Regions from separate parts of the Homo sapiens genome. Here region 2 is linked to region 1. Evidence: promoter capture Hi-C in 16 types of primary human blood cells and fetal thymus (Javierre and others, 2016). All regions are on one chromosome and are shown on one strand. Each heading gives the region's core, a stretch centred on a gene start or on the middle of the fragment in contact. The rest is flanking DNA. Distances are from core to core; before and after follow the strand shown. Region 1 holds the start of GPX2 (glutathione peroxidase 2). Region 2 overlaps SPTB (spectrin beta, erythrocytic).

Region 1 (7,352 bases), core at 1,826-4,325:
ACCACCGGTGTGGCTGCCTGGATGAGTCCTTGGGGGTAGGTCTCACTCAGACCCTGGCAGTGATGTGGGAGGGAGAGAGGCAGTGCTGGTAGAAGCAGCTCCAGAAGCAAAGGCAACAGCAGTAGAGTGACCACGGAAGCGGCAAACATTGTCTTCCCTTCTCTACCTTCCCTAGTGCCACCTGCAGGGAGGCCCAAAGCAAAGCCCCGTTGCCCTGCATTGGGCTGGCACTGCAGAAATAAGATGAAACACAGTTATCGAGAGGATGCTGAACATCTATGAGCAGGTTTTAAAGCCAAGATGAGTCTCATCTGTTTGTGTGGGTCAGGAACGGGTCTTCCTGAAGGCATGAGGTGGGACTGGATAATCTTTCAGATTTGTGATTGGATACCTCGGGGGAGCAGAGGCAGACTGGGATCTCAGGACTGCAGGTATTTCATACTTTGGGATATGGAATTGATGGAGGTGGAGAATATTGGGGATAAGGACTGAATGAAGAAAGGAGTAGGACAACGCAGGACAACAGTAGTCTTAAGATTTTCACTACACTTTACCCGGCACTAGTGATAGATAAACTCTTCTGACCCTAACCATCACCGTGTGAGATGGGGAGGGTGGTTATCTACCCAGGTCCCACAGGCAAGGAAACAGATGATCAGAGAACTTAAAGATTTGGCCGGGTGCAGTGGCTCATGCCTGTAATCCCAACTCTGGGAGGCCGAGGCAGGAGGACTGCTTGAGCCCAAGAGTTTGGGACCAGCCTGGGCAACATAGTGAGACACTGTCTCTAGAAAAAATTAGCTGAGTGTGGTGGCTTGTGAGGCTGAGGCCAGTGGATCACTTGAGCCCAGAAGGTCAAGGCTGCAGTTGCACCATTGCACTCCTGCCTGGGTGACAGAGAAAGACCCTGTCTCAATAAAAAGAGCTTAAAGATTTGCCTAAGGGTCCGAAGTAACAGTGGCAGAATTGTGGTTGTAAACCACTGAATTGGAATCACTGGAGGGCAAAGCTTTGGCATCTCTAGAAAAATTCCTACAAACAATTCTCATTTGCAGTCAGAATTAAGAACCACCAACCCAGGCTTTCTGCCTAAGCCAGTGCTGTGTCCAGAGCAAGCACTGTCCCACAGAAAGCCATAAGAATCATACGCTGCTTAGTGTATGCTTAAAGTTGTAAGCTTTTGGAAAGCGAGGCCAGTTTGAGGTAAATTTGGAGACAGAGATATTTTAGGAGAGCCTCACCAAGTATATTCCATTAGGAAAGGTGAGAACCCTGGGAGTCTGAAGGGTCCAAGGTCACACCAGGAGAAAAGGGATGGCATGTACCTAAGGAAGAGGGAACCCCCACACTCCTCATCTTGGGAACTCCCATGGCCTTCTTGAAGAAGGCTTGCAAAAGAGCAGAGAATAAGAGGTGTCTCTGGAGGCCCAGAGAGTACTAGGGGGAAGCTCTAGGTATGCACATAAATCCGGCAAGTTACAGTTCTGCCCACTATCAGTGCCAAGTCCTTGTGACTCAGTGGCTTGGTGGGGACTCTTTCTTATTGGTTGCTTCTAGGAACTCCACCCAGCTTCAGCAGGGGACACACTTCCCTCTACACTTCCTGTCACTCCTTCTGTCCACTTAGGTAATGGAAACTTGTTTTTAGGGAGCAGCCAGCTGAGACACATGGTCCCTGTATACTTGAACAGCCATGGAAAAGCTGCAAGGCAGCTTGGCGCTCCCTGGTGATAATTACTTCATCTCATCTCAACAAATCAGATTCTCAAGACCAGCTGCTCCCCGGACTTGCTTATTCTTTGTTCCAAGGAGACAGTTCCCAATGGATGTGCCCCTGTGAAAACACCCTAGTAAACATTTGCTTTGTTATTGAAATTTCACTCTAAAATCCCAAAGCTAGGTCAAGCCCCATTGCTAGTTTTACTGATGAAGAAATCAAGGCATTTTTAAAAGAGTAACTTGTTGAGTTGGCGGGTGCTTGGGTCTTTTCGGTTTCTGTGGCTTCCAGGGGTGGGCCTCTGAGATGGCCCTTAGCAGATGTCCTGCGATGCACTGCACGCCTCTTGTTGAAAGCATCAGGGGTGACCTGCCTGCGTCTGGAACCACAGCAGCTTCAACTTCCTCCACACACTTCCTTCTGTGGGAAGGTGACCAGCACAAACCCGCTCTGAAAAGTCTTGGGGACCAAATCTCTGTCTGAGAGGAAGGTAGGTGCAGTTCATCCACTAAGTTTATCCACCTGTTCTGTGACTCCTCTTCACCATTCTCCCAGCAACGACTGAGCCTCATGACTTGGGGGCTGGGGGATGAGGTGGAGGTGGGGGATATAATATAGGAGATGGTACAGTGCAGGGGCAGAGGCTGGTGTGTTCTCCAGGACAAGTGGCACCACGCACTGAAAGACTTTTCAAGATAAACACAACTTTGTCTCTTCAGCCTGGCAAGAGCTGAGGCACTGAAAACTTCTTTTTTCCCCTAGAAAATGACACACTCTCCTCCTAAGGGTCCCTTTGATTTTGTCCTGGTGGAAAGCAACAAAGAGAAGAACGTGAACAGGAATATGTATATTTCAGTTGTCATCTGAGTCCCATGGATAGGAGGCTCAATTCTCTTCTTCATCTTTCAGATCTCCGCAGACCCTGCCCTCTCACTGTACAATTCAGAGATTGACACTCAGCAGGCATTCAATAAACGTCTGTGTCAAATGAGAACAACTTGATGGGGCAAGTAGGAGTCAATCCTGCATCCCTCCCTCCCTTTTTTTCCTCTCCATTCGACCTTTAGGGCTCTGGTTTCCTGTAAGCAGTGAATTATTTACCTCTGCTCATAGATATCAAATTGGCCCTTCCCAGGTTGCAGCAGGGTGGGGCGGGGAGGCGGCCTTGTTCAGTCTGTTAATAGGAGGAGCAACCTCCTTGTTCAAACAGCACTTACAGGTGGGGACCTGTTTTTGCTAAGTCATCCTGGGGATGCTCAAAGCTCCATTGTTAGATCCTTTCTGTCCTCCTTCCTGGCTCCTCCTTCCTCCCCACCCCTCTAATAGGCTCATAAGTGGGCTCAGGCCTCTCTGCGGGGCTCACTCTGCGCTTCACCATGGCTTTCATTGCCAAGTCCTTCTATGACCTCAGTGCCATCAGCCTGGATGGGGAGAAGGTAGATTTCAATACGTTCCGGGGCAGGGCCGTGCTGATTGAGAATGTGGCTTCGCTCTGAGGCACAACCACCCGGGACTTCACCCAGCTCAACGAGCTGCAATGCCGCTTTCCCAGGCGCCTGGTGGTCCTTGGCTTCCCTTGCAACCAATTTGGACATCAGGTGAGGGGTCCCTCCTTGTAATGCACCAAAAGTGTTGGGTTGGTGTAGCTCAGGTGGGATAAAAGGAGAGGCTGAATGACCATGTTTTGGAGTGTCTGGAATAATGGGGTATGTTTTGTTAAGCTAGGTCTTTAGGTGCATGTGACATACCAAGAGAAGGTATATATTTTTTAAGATTAAACACTGAGGCTGTGTGATTTTTATAGTTTACTGTCTTTCTACTATATTACTCCATGAGGGCTGGTTCCAGGTCTGTGTTTCTCTCCACTGTGTCCTCAGTGCCTAGGGCACAGAAAGCACTCATTAAATATTTGTTGAATAAATGAGTGGAGAAAGTAGAGGCCAGGAATCAAACAAGAATTGGACAGACTCAAGAGACCTTAGCTCTAGCTGGACTTGGTTTTGCTATTTAATGGCTCTGTGCCCTCGGAAAGGGCGCTTCATTTTTCGGTTTAGTTTCCTCATCTGTAAATTGGGGATAATACCACTTAGCTCATAGGATTATTATGATGTTTAGGGGACAGGATATACAAAAGTAACTTGAAAAATATAAAGTACTATGCAAATGCAAGCAAACTGTTATTTAGATTGAGGATGATTTTTGTTGGTTTAAATTAGCCAAGTGGAAAGAAAATAAGCAGGAAAGAGAAAGGTTTTCAAAAGGCACGTGCCTCTGGGCATTACATGCACCTATTTCTGATTAATGGGTCAAGCTGTTATAGATCTTCAGCCCACACACCTCGAGTTCTCTTTTAGGGATTCTTCTATTTCCACCTATGATTTTAACGTACAAGCAGGGAGAATGAACCCAAGCGAACCCTCTCGTTATAATCCCCTTAGTTCAATTCACAGTGGTATGAAGGTGAGGAAGACAGGAAAGCAGGAAGGCTGAAGCATCACTGGCTGTGACAAACCTGAGCCCAAACTGTTCACTGCTCTCACTGTTCTTCCCTAAGTTTTCTGTCTGGCCTTTTCTAGAGCAGGAGAGACAGAAGTAGCAAACCCTCTTTCGAGATGTCCCTCCAGCCCCAGAAGTACCTCCAGCCTCACACCATCTCTTCAGCCTAGCAAGTTGCTGGAGGGAGTCTATAACCTACCAGGAGCCAGCCAGCCATTTGTATCAAGAAATAGAAATCTGCCAGGGTACAGTGGCTCACACCTATAATCCCAGCGCTTTGGGAGGCTAAGGTAGGCAGATTGCTTGAGCTCAGGAGTTCAAGATTAGCCTGAGCAACATGGTGAAACCTTGTTTCTACAAAAAATTGCAAAAATTAGCCAGGCATGGTGGCATGTGCCTGTAGTCACAGCTACTTGGGACGCTGAAGTAGCAGGATCGCCTGAGCCTGGGAAGTCGAGGCTGCAGTGAGCTATGATTGTGCCACCGCACCCCAGCCTAGGTGACAGAGTGAGGCCCTGTCTCAGGAAAAAAAACAGAAACAAAAACAGAGAAGTCCACTAGAGATCAGCTCTGGGCTCATGATGTCATGATGGCCTGGAACTGACTGAACTAGTTAGTTCTCACAGGTCAGAAGCAGGAACTTTCTCCCAGAGGAAGGTATCTGTCTGTTAAATTGGAAAGGTAGAGGTGGAAAAGAAGGGTTCCCATAGGCCTTTTGGATTGTCATGAATGGTGATGCTGAGAGGGAATAGGACAGGGATGGCAGTGGGGAGGGAAAGGCAGGGACCAGGTTTTGAGCCAAAGCATGCGTAGCTGAGAGCAGTGAGTGGATAGGAGGTGCAGCAGTCTTTGGGTAGCAGCCTACTCAAGAAAAGAATGATAATTACATACTCACAATCTTTAGCCATCAAGCACTTATTTCCTCAACTCCCCCTCCCCCTGGCCTATTGCCAAACCCTAAATCCTGTATCCTATTTACTTCATGCCTGTTGGTTACTAAGTAGTTCCATTTAGAGTACACATTCATTGTTGCCTTGAACTTGCTCTGCTGTTATGGCACCTGAAAACTAGATGTTCTTGGATGGGGGTCTTCCTTCATCAAAGCTTCTTCCCATTTGTACTTCAGTTCTAGGACAAGGCAAGAAGAAAGCAAGAAGCTGTAAATCCCATTCCTCTGGGTCTCAATTTCACCCTCAGTTCAAGGAGCTGAGTAGGCAGAGGCAAAGGCTATACTCAACACACGTGCAATTGAAAGCAGGCGAGGCAAAACCAGGGCAGAGGAAAGGAAAGGGGTGTGTGTGTAGGTATGGATTTATGGGTAGGTGGGTCGGTAGGTTAGTTGAAGAGGAGGTTCTAAGCAGTATAACCTAAGCCTCTTTTCTCTTTCTTCTGCTTCAAACACCTTAAGAACTGCTCAGGGTAGACTGGAGACAAAAGCAACAGCTCAGAAGTGCTAAATCTTGAAGAGCAGCCAAAGCATGGGCAACAAAGTGAGACCCCATCTCTACAAAAAAAAAAAAAAATTAGCCGGGCATGGTGGCCTGTGTCTGTAGTCTCAGCTACTAAAGAGGCTGAAGCAGGAGGAATGCTTGAGCCCAGAAGTTCAAGGCTGCAGTGAGCAACACCTCGTCTGTCTTGTCTCTCTCTCTTTCACAGTGAAAAAGAATGACCCTGGGGAGGGAGTGTAGGAGGGTGAAAGAGTTTCATGTTGTGGATCTTTCTCTTCCCCCACCCACTGTCCACGCACTTTGTCTTTTTCCTCCCCTAGGAGAACTGTCAGAATGAGGAGATCCTGAACAGTCTCAAGTATGTCCGTCCTGGGGGTGGATACCAGCCCACCTTCACCCTTGTCCAAAAATGTGAGGTGAATGGGCAGAACGAGCATCCTGTCTTCGCCTACCTGAAGGACAAGCTCCCCTACCCTTATGATGACCCATTTTCCCTCATGACCGATCCCAAGCTCATCATTTGGAGCCCTGTGCGCCGCTCAGATGTGGCCTGGAACTTTGAGAAGTTCCTCATAGGGCCGGAGGGAGAGCCCTTCCGACGCTACAGCCGCACCTTCCCAACCATCAACATTGAGCCTGACATCAAGCGCCTCCTTAAAGTTGCCATATAGATGTGAACTGCTCAACACACAGATCTCCTACTCCATCCAGTCCTGAGGAGCCTTAGGATGCAGCATGCCTTCAGGAGACACTGCTGGACCTCAGCATTCCCTTGATATCAGTCCCCTTCACTGCAGAGCCTTGCCTTTCCCCTCTGCCTGTTTCCTTTTCCTCTCCCAACCCTCTGGTTGGTGATTCAACTTGGGCTCCAAGACTTGGGTAAGCTCTGGGCCTTCACAGAATGATGGCACCTTCCTAAACCCTCATGGGTGGTGTCTGAGAGGCGTGAAGGGCCTGGAGCCACTCTGCTAGAAGAGACCAATAAAGGGCAGGTGTGGAAACGGCCAGCCTGTGTGTGTGTTCTTTGACAGAGGGCGGAGGGAAGCTACAAACTGCAGGTGGGATAGAGGAGCTGCTAGCACACAAAGCTTTGGGAGGGGAGGATCTGACGGATCAAGGGATGCCCTAATTACTGACAGGAAAGCAAGCGCTGGCCAAGGTCTGCAGTGGCAGGTGCAGTTACGGGAAATGTGAATTATATTATTCCTTTACAGCTCTTCTTCAGAACTGGGGAAAAAGAGAAAGTGATAATGGGAGGTAGAGGAGGAAAAGACAATGAGCCCTTTGGTTGGGGATATTGGGAGGCTGTTAGGAGGATTACAGTCAGGAAGCATCAATAGCACTGTGGGTACTGGGCCAACTAGATCTGACTTGTGCCTTGGGAAATTCCTGGGCAGTCAGCTTAGTTAATGTTTACCAATAGCAAGGGCATAGAGGGTGTAGTTACTGAGAACACAAACAGCACTTTATCTTTTTCCTGATCATCAAACATCTCGGGTGTTTGATCCTTTGCTAGACTGATTCTCCCTCCTTTTTAAAGTTCATGGCCCGGGTGTGGTGGCTCACACCTATAATCCCAGCACTTTGAGAGGCCGAGACAGGCGGATCACTTGAGGTCAGGAGTTCGAGACCAGCCTGGCCAACATGATGAAACTCTGTCTGTACTAAAAATACAAAAAATTAGCCAGGTG
Region 2 (7,352 bases), core at 2,163-4,662, 120 kb after region 1:
CTCCAGCCCCACGGCCCAGGCCTCTCTCAGCCACTCTTAAAAATAGCCCAGGACGAATCAGGAGAGCCAGGGTCCGGTTACTTCCTGCACTCAGGGTCTGATCTCACCTCACCTCCTGCGTCTGGCAGCTCAGCCCTTCTCAGGGGCTGCTGGACAGGCTTGTGGCCCTGCAGGAGGTGGTCAGCCTGTCAGTCCCTCTCTGGCTCAGAGACCAAGTCAGTGGTAGTTTCCCTTAAGGGAAATAGAGAAAGGTGTGGGGCCGGGGGTGGGGGGTATCTTTCCCGGCTATCGTTGCCCAGCCAGTTGGGTGCGAAATCTCAGTCCTGGAAGCAGCAAGTCCATCTGCAGAAGAGGACAGGCTGTTCAAAGGCACAAGGGTGGTCTTGGGCACAGGTCTGGCATCATGGGGCATCCTGTGTTCGGGATGATGACTGGTTTTCCCACCTTGCACCTTCCCTTCTCTTGAGTGGCAAACACTTTTGCTAAGCCCTGGCTGGGAAATGCCCTCTGTCCCCATGCACCATGTCCTTTCCCCACCTGCCCTCCTGAAACCCTTCTGATTGAGGGGAACAAACTGTGCTCCAGTCCTTTCCCCAGCTGCCCTCCTGAAACCTGTCCGATCAAGGGGGATAAACTGTGCTCCAGTCCTTTCCCCACCTGCCCTCCTGAAACCCGTCTGGTCAAGGGGGATAAACTGCGCTCCAGTTTGGCCTTTGGTCCCAGCCGCAGTCATTCCACCGGATGACCCTGGGGAGGCCTCCTCCTGCAGCAGGCCTTGGTTTTTCTCCCAAGGCAATTAGGGTGGGTAATCCTGGCTCCTATCTTACCTCACAAGGATGTGGTGGGATGGATTCATCAGGTTGGGGAAAATGCAGTCTGAAGTGAGTCTGTATCTGAAAAATAAGGCTGTAGCCCTGCTGCCATCTCACACTTGGGCTGGTGAATGTGCTTCAGTGCCTCCGTGATCATGTGCCTGGTGGATGTGCATGTGTGTGCTGGTGTGTGTCAGTGTGTCAGATATGAGCCTGTGTGTGTGCCGTGGGTGCACACACCCACAGAGGGAGTGGTCTCCCTCACAGCTCACTGGCTGTCAACCCCCATCACAGGTCTGCCTCACAGCCTCCCTGCCTCCCGCTTTGCTCTCTTGGTTGTGAAGGCTCTGGGTCCCCTATTCTCTTACAGACTTGATCTTGGAGTCCCTTAAGATCCCTAGAAAGAGGACCAAATGTCAGGTACAGATGAAGAAAGCTAATAGTTTTCCTAGGGTCCAGGGCATTGAAGACCAAGCCTGGCTCCCCTGGCCCCCTCCTCACTTTTCTCCCCTGACTCCACCCCTGCCTTCCCGTTACTTCTTAAAGTTCTCAAAGCTTTCTGTGTTCTTTCTTACCTTCAGGACTTTACACCTACTCTTTATTCCCTTTGCTTGGACTCTTGTCCTTTCCCACCTGTCCCTTCATGGGTACCTCCAAGCTTCCTTTAGGAATAAGCTTCAACTTCCCCTCCCTGATACCAGTCCCCGCCGAGTCCCCACCTAAGCCAGCCATGACACACATCACACCTTCTTGTAGTTGCTTGTTTAATTGTGTGTCTCTGCCACCAGATTCCAAGCTCTGTGAGGACATGACTTTCCTGTCTTACTTGCCCCTGCCTAGTACAGTGCCTGCCACCTAGTTGGAGCTTGGTACATATTTGAATTAACTGTAAATGAATGAATGAGTGAGTAGGAATGACTGATGACGGGTGAGGGAGGACCCAGTGCTCCTGATGCGCTGGTTCATCACATGGACTCACAATGCACGGTTCCATTGTCCATGGGATGCCCCGACTGCCACGTGCTTGATGGGACAGCAGGCTCCTTTGGGTTGCTCAGTCTGTCCTGGAATTCAACAGGAGACCTCATCTGAGCACCTGGTCATGCTCCAAAGAAGCCCTAAAATGCGAGGTCAGCTTTCTGAATACCAACTGCTGGGAAGGAACTCAGAGGGCTCTCAGAAAGCCTCCGGGAGGAGTGAAGTCCCCCCAGTGCAGCTGCCCCGGGCTGGTGGCGTCAGTGGCGGCTTAACTCTCTCATCCATCTCTCCCCATGGTTCCCATATGGGTCAGACTCAGCCTGTTTCCAGCCTCTCCCTTCCCCTGGCCTGTCCCCATCTCCCCCACCAGGTTAGGTCCTGGCCTAGTCCTCAGGGTGAGGGTTGCTTTCCCCAGCTTGTGCCCTGCTGCCTCTGGCTCCCAGGAGAGCTTCCTCTCTCCCGGGGTGCTCCCCGCGGCGGGGCGGCTGGTCTGGAGGAAGCAGCTGGCTGCGACTGACGTCTCCACCTGCTGGCCGTCCTGACCCTTGCTACGTGCAGCTCTCCATCCCTGCCACTGCTGCCGGTACTGTTGCTGCTGCTGCTGCTGCAATATTTTATAACAAACGACCCAGAGACCCTGGTAGGAAGCACGCCCAGGCAGATGACATGGCGTTCTGCTTCTGTCAGGATCTACTCACGTTGGATGCTCCGAATAAGTTTCCCCGGAGAAAAAGTCCGAGGGGGTAGAGAGATAACCCTCTGACTGTGTTGCTGTCCCCCAGGGATCCTTCCATGAAGACTGAGGCAGGCGGAGCTGCTAAGAGCCTGCTGACATGACATCGGCCACAGAGTTTGAAAATGTGGGCAACCAGCCACCTTACAGCAGGATCAATGCCCGCTGGGACGCCCCAGACGACGAGCTGGATAATGACAACAGCTCAGCCAGGCTCTTTGAGAGGTCCCGGATAAAGGCCTTGGCAGGTACTGTTTGGGGCCACAAGGGTTGGAGGGCATTCTCACAGTCACAAGGTTCACAGCCCTCCCCACCTAGTGTGAATCCTCTGTGTGTGTTGGGTGAGCCCTGGCATGGCAGTGATGGAGACGTGTTTGTCGGGCTCAGGGAGGTGGGGGTCCCCTTGGGAGGGAGCTCAGGCAGCCTCTGCCCCCAAGGCCTCTGAGAAGCAAGGAGGTGCTGGAGCTGGGACCAGGTGGGGCCTGCCCTCTGCCTCTGTCCTGAGTGACCTGCGGCCAAGTGAGAAGTACGAGAGTCTGGGCAAAGCAGTGTCTGAGGGCTGGACAGCCGGGCGCAGGTTCACAGGGCCTCCTGGTTAACCCCGATTTCCTGCCTGGGCCTAGAGAGAGGAATTACCATAGTCCTCTCTGTAGTCCCAAAAGGAGTGATTGGATAGGAAATCGAGAACAGATAACATCCTCCCCACTGCCTCAGGAAGGATTTTCTTGATGAAACCTTTCATCCTTAAACTGGAATTAGATTTTTGCTTAGCAGGTTCATAATAGATCTCTCTGTGTGTGTGTGTGTGTGTGTGTGTGTGAGAGAGAGAGAGAGAGAGAGAGAAGGTGGGGGTGGAGAATATCTTAAATCTCTAGTAGAAATGACTTCTCCTCCCCCTGTTGGCTGATATCTGATTCTTGGGATTTTTTTTTTTTCCCCAACTCCTGTGACTATTGCCTCCCTGAACTTGACCCAGGGTAAGTATATTCCGACCTTAAGTCTTCGGCCAATAAGAAAGTTTGAGTTACATGGGGTTGTGTGTGTATGTGTGGAAGGTGGGTTCCTTCACCTGATCCACCAGTCAGCAGCCCACACTGGACCTGTTTCCCTATCATTGACTGTTGCCGTCTTCCACCTCCTAAGAAGAGTACAACCTTCCCCATAAACACTTTCTGGAGTGATTCTCCCGCTGCCCCCATACCTTATGGCCCAAATTGAAGGTTGTAGTAATCCTCTTCCCCACTCCCTCCCTGTACTCAGCTCCCAGATACCACAGTCCCTGGCAGACCTTGAAGCCTGAGCAGGGCCCTGGACCCCTCTGGGACCATAATGACCTCACATCTTGGGAGTGTCTGGGCTTCTCATGCCGGGAAAGGAATGCTGCGGTGTCTCATCTCCCTTGTCATGACAAGGAATCCACTTGGGTCTCAGTCATTACCCCTGGTGTCCTTGCTCTTTACAGGAAACTCTCTTTCTTCTTTCTTTATCTCCTTCTCACCCTCCTTGACCCCACAAAATTCTCCCTTGGTTTCCCTTGGGGACGGACCATAACGGTGACCCATTGCTTTTGTGTATGTTAATTTAAGCCAACCAAACTTGGAACCATTGGCTTTGTCGTCAGTCTGGTTTTACCTTCTTATATCTCTGTGCTGGCTGGATCTAGCTGCAATGACCCTGGCGATCCAGGTGGAGGGAGAGGGGTACCATATTCCGTAAGATTTGCCAAAGCAAGGTAAGAGTGGGGACTGGCCTTTGTGCAGAGATTCTTTTATCTTTTTTAAGAAACCAAGGTAAATTCTATTTTAACAGTTGCTTGTTGTACTCCTACTATGTTTAAAGCTAAACCCCTGGCCAACCATGAAAGGGGAGAGGGGAACCACAGAGATGAATTCAGTATAGTGTCTGTCTCTCAGGAGTTCAAAATCTATTAGGGAAAAATGAACTATGTTCACAATTAATTAGCATGAGTGGAATTAGAGAAGAACTGTAGGATGGGCACATAAATTAAACAGCAATGAGAGAGCCAAGGAAGAGATGCAAGGAAAATCGGGGAACAGTTCATGGAGGAGGCAGCCTTTGAGCTGGGAATTGAAGGGTGTGTGTGATTCTGGCAGGCAGAAGGGCCCCGGGTTTCTCCAGTTGGCCTGTGTGTGTTGTCACCACGTCTGATGAGCTGCTTGGGAAGTTGGTGGAGACAGGTTAATGAGCCGAGCACAAAGCCGGGCGTGGTAGCTCATGCCTATAATCCCAGCACTTTGGGATCCTGAGGTAAGTGTATGGCTTGAGACCAGGAGTTCAAGACCAGCCTGGCCAAGAGGGCGAAACTCCATCTCTACTAAAATCCAAAAAAAAAAGAAATAGCTGGGCGTGGTGGTGCATGCCTGTAATCCCAGCTACTCAAGAAGCTGAGGCACGAGAATTGCTTGAACCCGGGAGGCGGAGGTTGCAGTGACCCAAGATCACGCCACTGCACTCCAACCTGGGTGACAGAGCAAGACTCTGTGTTTAGTGGTCAGTCCTAGGTTGATCAGGAAAGAGCCTTTGCTGACCTTGGCTGTGCCTAGTTGAGCCTCCTCCTCACCAGGAGCATGCATCTGACTTACCAGAGAATCTGAATGCCCCCCAGGGAGAGGAAAAGCCACAGAGCATAGAATTGTATGCCTGGGCCTTAACTATTCAGAACATCTGGCCAACAAGTAAATATGCAAGTTTGAGGTCCTTTCAAGATTTTCAAGAACAAACAACCTAAGTGGTTTACTGGCTTCCTTCTCCTGAGAGTCCACTCTAAGTGACCTGGGCTTGAGCTAAAGCTTTGGAAAGGTCTAAATAGGGTGGCCAGATGTGCCCATTCTGCTGGGTAGGCAGAATGGAGAAAGGGAGCATGTCAGCCTTCCTAGTCTCAACGTCTTGACTTTTTTTCCCTTCAGTACTGTTGTTGGGGCCACCTTAGCAGCCTAGGCAGGGGTGTCTTTCAAAAGAAACATTAGGGAGAAGGAGCTCTCAGCCACTCTCCCACTCACAGGAATATTAAGGCAAGGAGGGGATTCAGCCCTGAGTTGCTTATAAGATAGCAGTGATCTACTTCATAGGTATATGTGGCAAGGTTGGGGAGACTGGCCTGGCGTCTTCTTCTGAAACTGAAGGTCCTGGGGTGAGGAGGAACATGTCACAAGATCCAGATTCAAGTCCTGATTCTGCCTCTAATGCCACCGCAGTGGAGGATCACTGACTCCTTTTCCATTTTTATAAAATGGGGATGATAGTATTTTCTCAAGGTTGTTGTGAAGAGCAAATAAGATAAAGTTTACGGAAGTTTTTATTTATAATAAAATGCTAGGTGAATGTTAGATAATGTTAGTACTAAGAAAATTTCCCATCGGTGTTTTCTGTCCTTTCTCTTTTCCCAACTTCAGACATTCAAGATCATGAGCTTGGTCTTTTTCCTTGCCTGTTGTACCTTGGCCTGTTCCAGGACCTGTTTCTTCCTTCTTAACCCCCACCCTCCTTTGCCTTGGAAGTTCTGAGTTGGAAGGAAAAGCCAGGGACCAAGGAAACCAGGCTAATGTTTGTGCTTGGAGCTCTGGGCTCTTTCCCCTTCCCCCAGACCTGATGCCCATGAGATGAAGCCCCATGCCATGCAGGTCTCTCTCTCTCCATAAGACTATCCAGTCCACGACCCTGGCTGTGTCTCCGCCATCTGGCTGGGTGACATGGGAGGCCCAAGAAACGTAAGGATGATGGGTCTTGTCAAATGCTTTTCCAGATGAGACAGTTTCTCTAGGTCCATCTCCATTTAATGACCTATGGTTGGAAGACCTGAATTGGGGTGACTGGATGTGATCTTTTCTGCTTCTTAAGTAAAATTCCTCTCAACTCCAAAGGAAATACTCCCTGTTCTGCCTTTCATACCACTCCCAGGTCTTCCTTCCTGGACCTAAAGAAACAAGCCATCTGGCTCATCTGTCCTAGTACATAAAAACCTGACCTCTCTCCAGAATGAATGACTTTCTTTATGAAACTGGGAGTCAGCCTAACTAAAGTGAAAAGGAAGAAGGGTAGGAAAATGTTGCAGAAGGCTCCTGTAAGGGGGTGGATTTGACCTTGGCAATGCCAAGGGGAGGGCTGGGATCCCAGCAGGAATATTTGCCCTGTAGATCCCTGAGCAGATTTTAGCGTTTTAACATCAGTCTCTAAGCTGGCCGCCTGTCATGAGGTTAAGTAGCAGGTAGCCCTGAGGCTTCTTCCTGGACTGGAGACCATGCTTCTCTCTTTTGATGACTGCCTCTGGCACCTTCCTACTTTCTGGACCTGTTTTCAGGGATTACAGGAAGAGCAGCAGCTGAAAAGCCCAAGTTCCTATCCTTCCAAAAGGTTCCAGCCTTCATGTTTCAATAGAAAGGCTCCCCCCATCTCCTAGAGTCCCCCTAATTGTCACACAGCCCCATTTCTTCTCCTTCCCCTTTTCATACTGGGAGCTGCCAGATGAGCATTTGTGGCCGTCTGGATGAAGAATGAAACACTGCAGGCTGCAGGGAACTTACCAGTCAGAATGCCCATCCTCTGTCTCCCTCTCCTCACCCCAGAGGAGGCATCTGCCTGCCTGCACACTCCTCCCCTTCCCTGCACCTGGGTACAGACTCCAGTGACTCCAGTGAGGATGCTGCCTCAGGGTAGATGTGGCCCAGAAGGGAGAGCAGGGAGTGGAGGAACCCCACAGAAAGATGCCCCAAAAAGAGAAGCCCTGTGCATGAGCCTCATTCCCCTTTCTCTCTTCCCTCCCCTCCCTCCTTCCACTCCCCTGCCTTACCCATGCACACAGCTTGGCATCC

Evidence for each region. Contacts are between HindIII fragments. The CHiCAGO score rates a contact against its expected background, and 5 or more counts as called.
Region 2: a contact is called between a fragment that was not itself captured here and the fragment with the promoter of GPX2 in region 1, in 1 of 17 cell types (megakaryocytes). The highest score is 6.3, in megakaryocytes.

What each region holds. Positions count from the first base shown.
Region 1 is chr14:64,938,468-64,945,819 of GRCh38, reverse strand. It overlaps GPX2 (glutathione peroxidase 2), which reads left to right and starts at 3,075. Exons shown (of 2, transcript NM_002083.4): 1 at 3,075-3,315; 2 at 5,982-6,662. The coding sequence starts at 3,094. The coding sequence ends at 6,332. All of the region lies in intron 3 of CHURC1-FNTB (CHURC1-FNTB readthrough), which reads right to left. It overlaps RAB15 (RAB15, member RAS oncogene family), which reads left to right. Exons shown (of 7, transcript NM_001308154.2): 7 at 1-4. The HindIII fragment of the contact is 4,140 bases long and covers 1,180-5,319 here.
Region 2 is chr14:64,818,366-64,825,717 of GRCh38, reverse strand. SPTB (spectrin beta, erythrocytic) reads left to right here. Exons shown (of 36, transcript NM_001355436.2): 2 at 2,573-2,771. The coding sequence starts at 2,624. Among named protein-coding and RNA genes, the nearest start is that of MIR7855, 36 kb to the right of the region's middle. The HindIII fragment of the contact is 3,846 bases long and covers 1,490-5,335 here.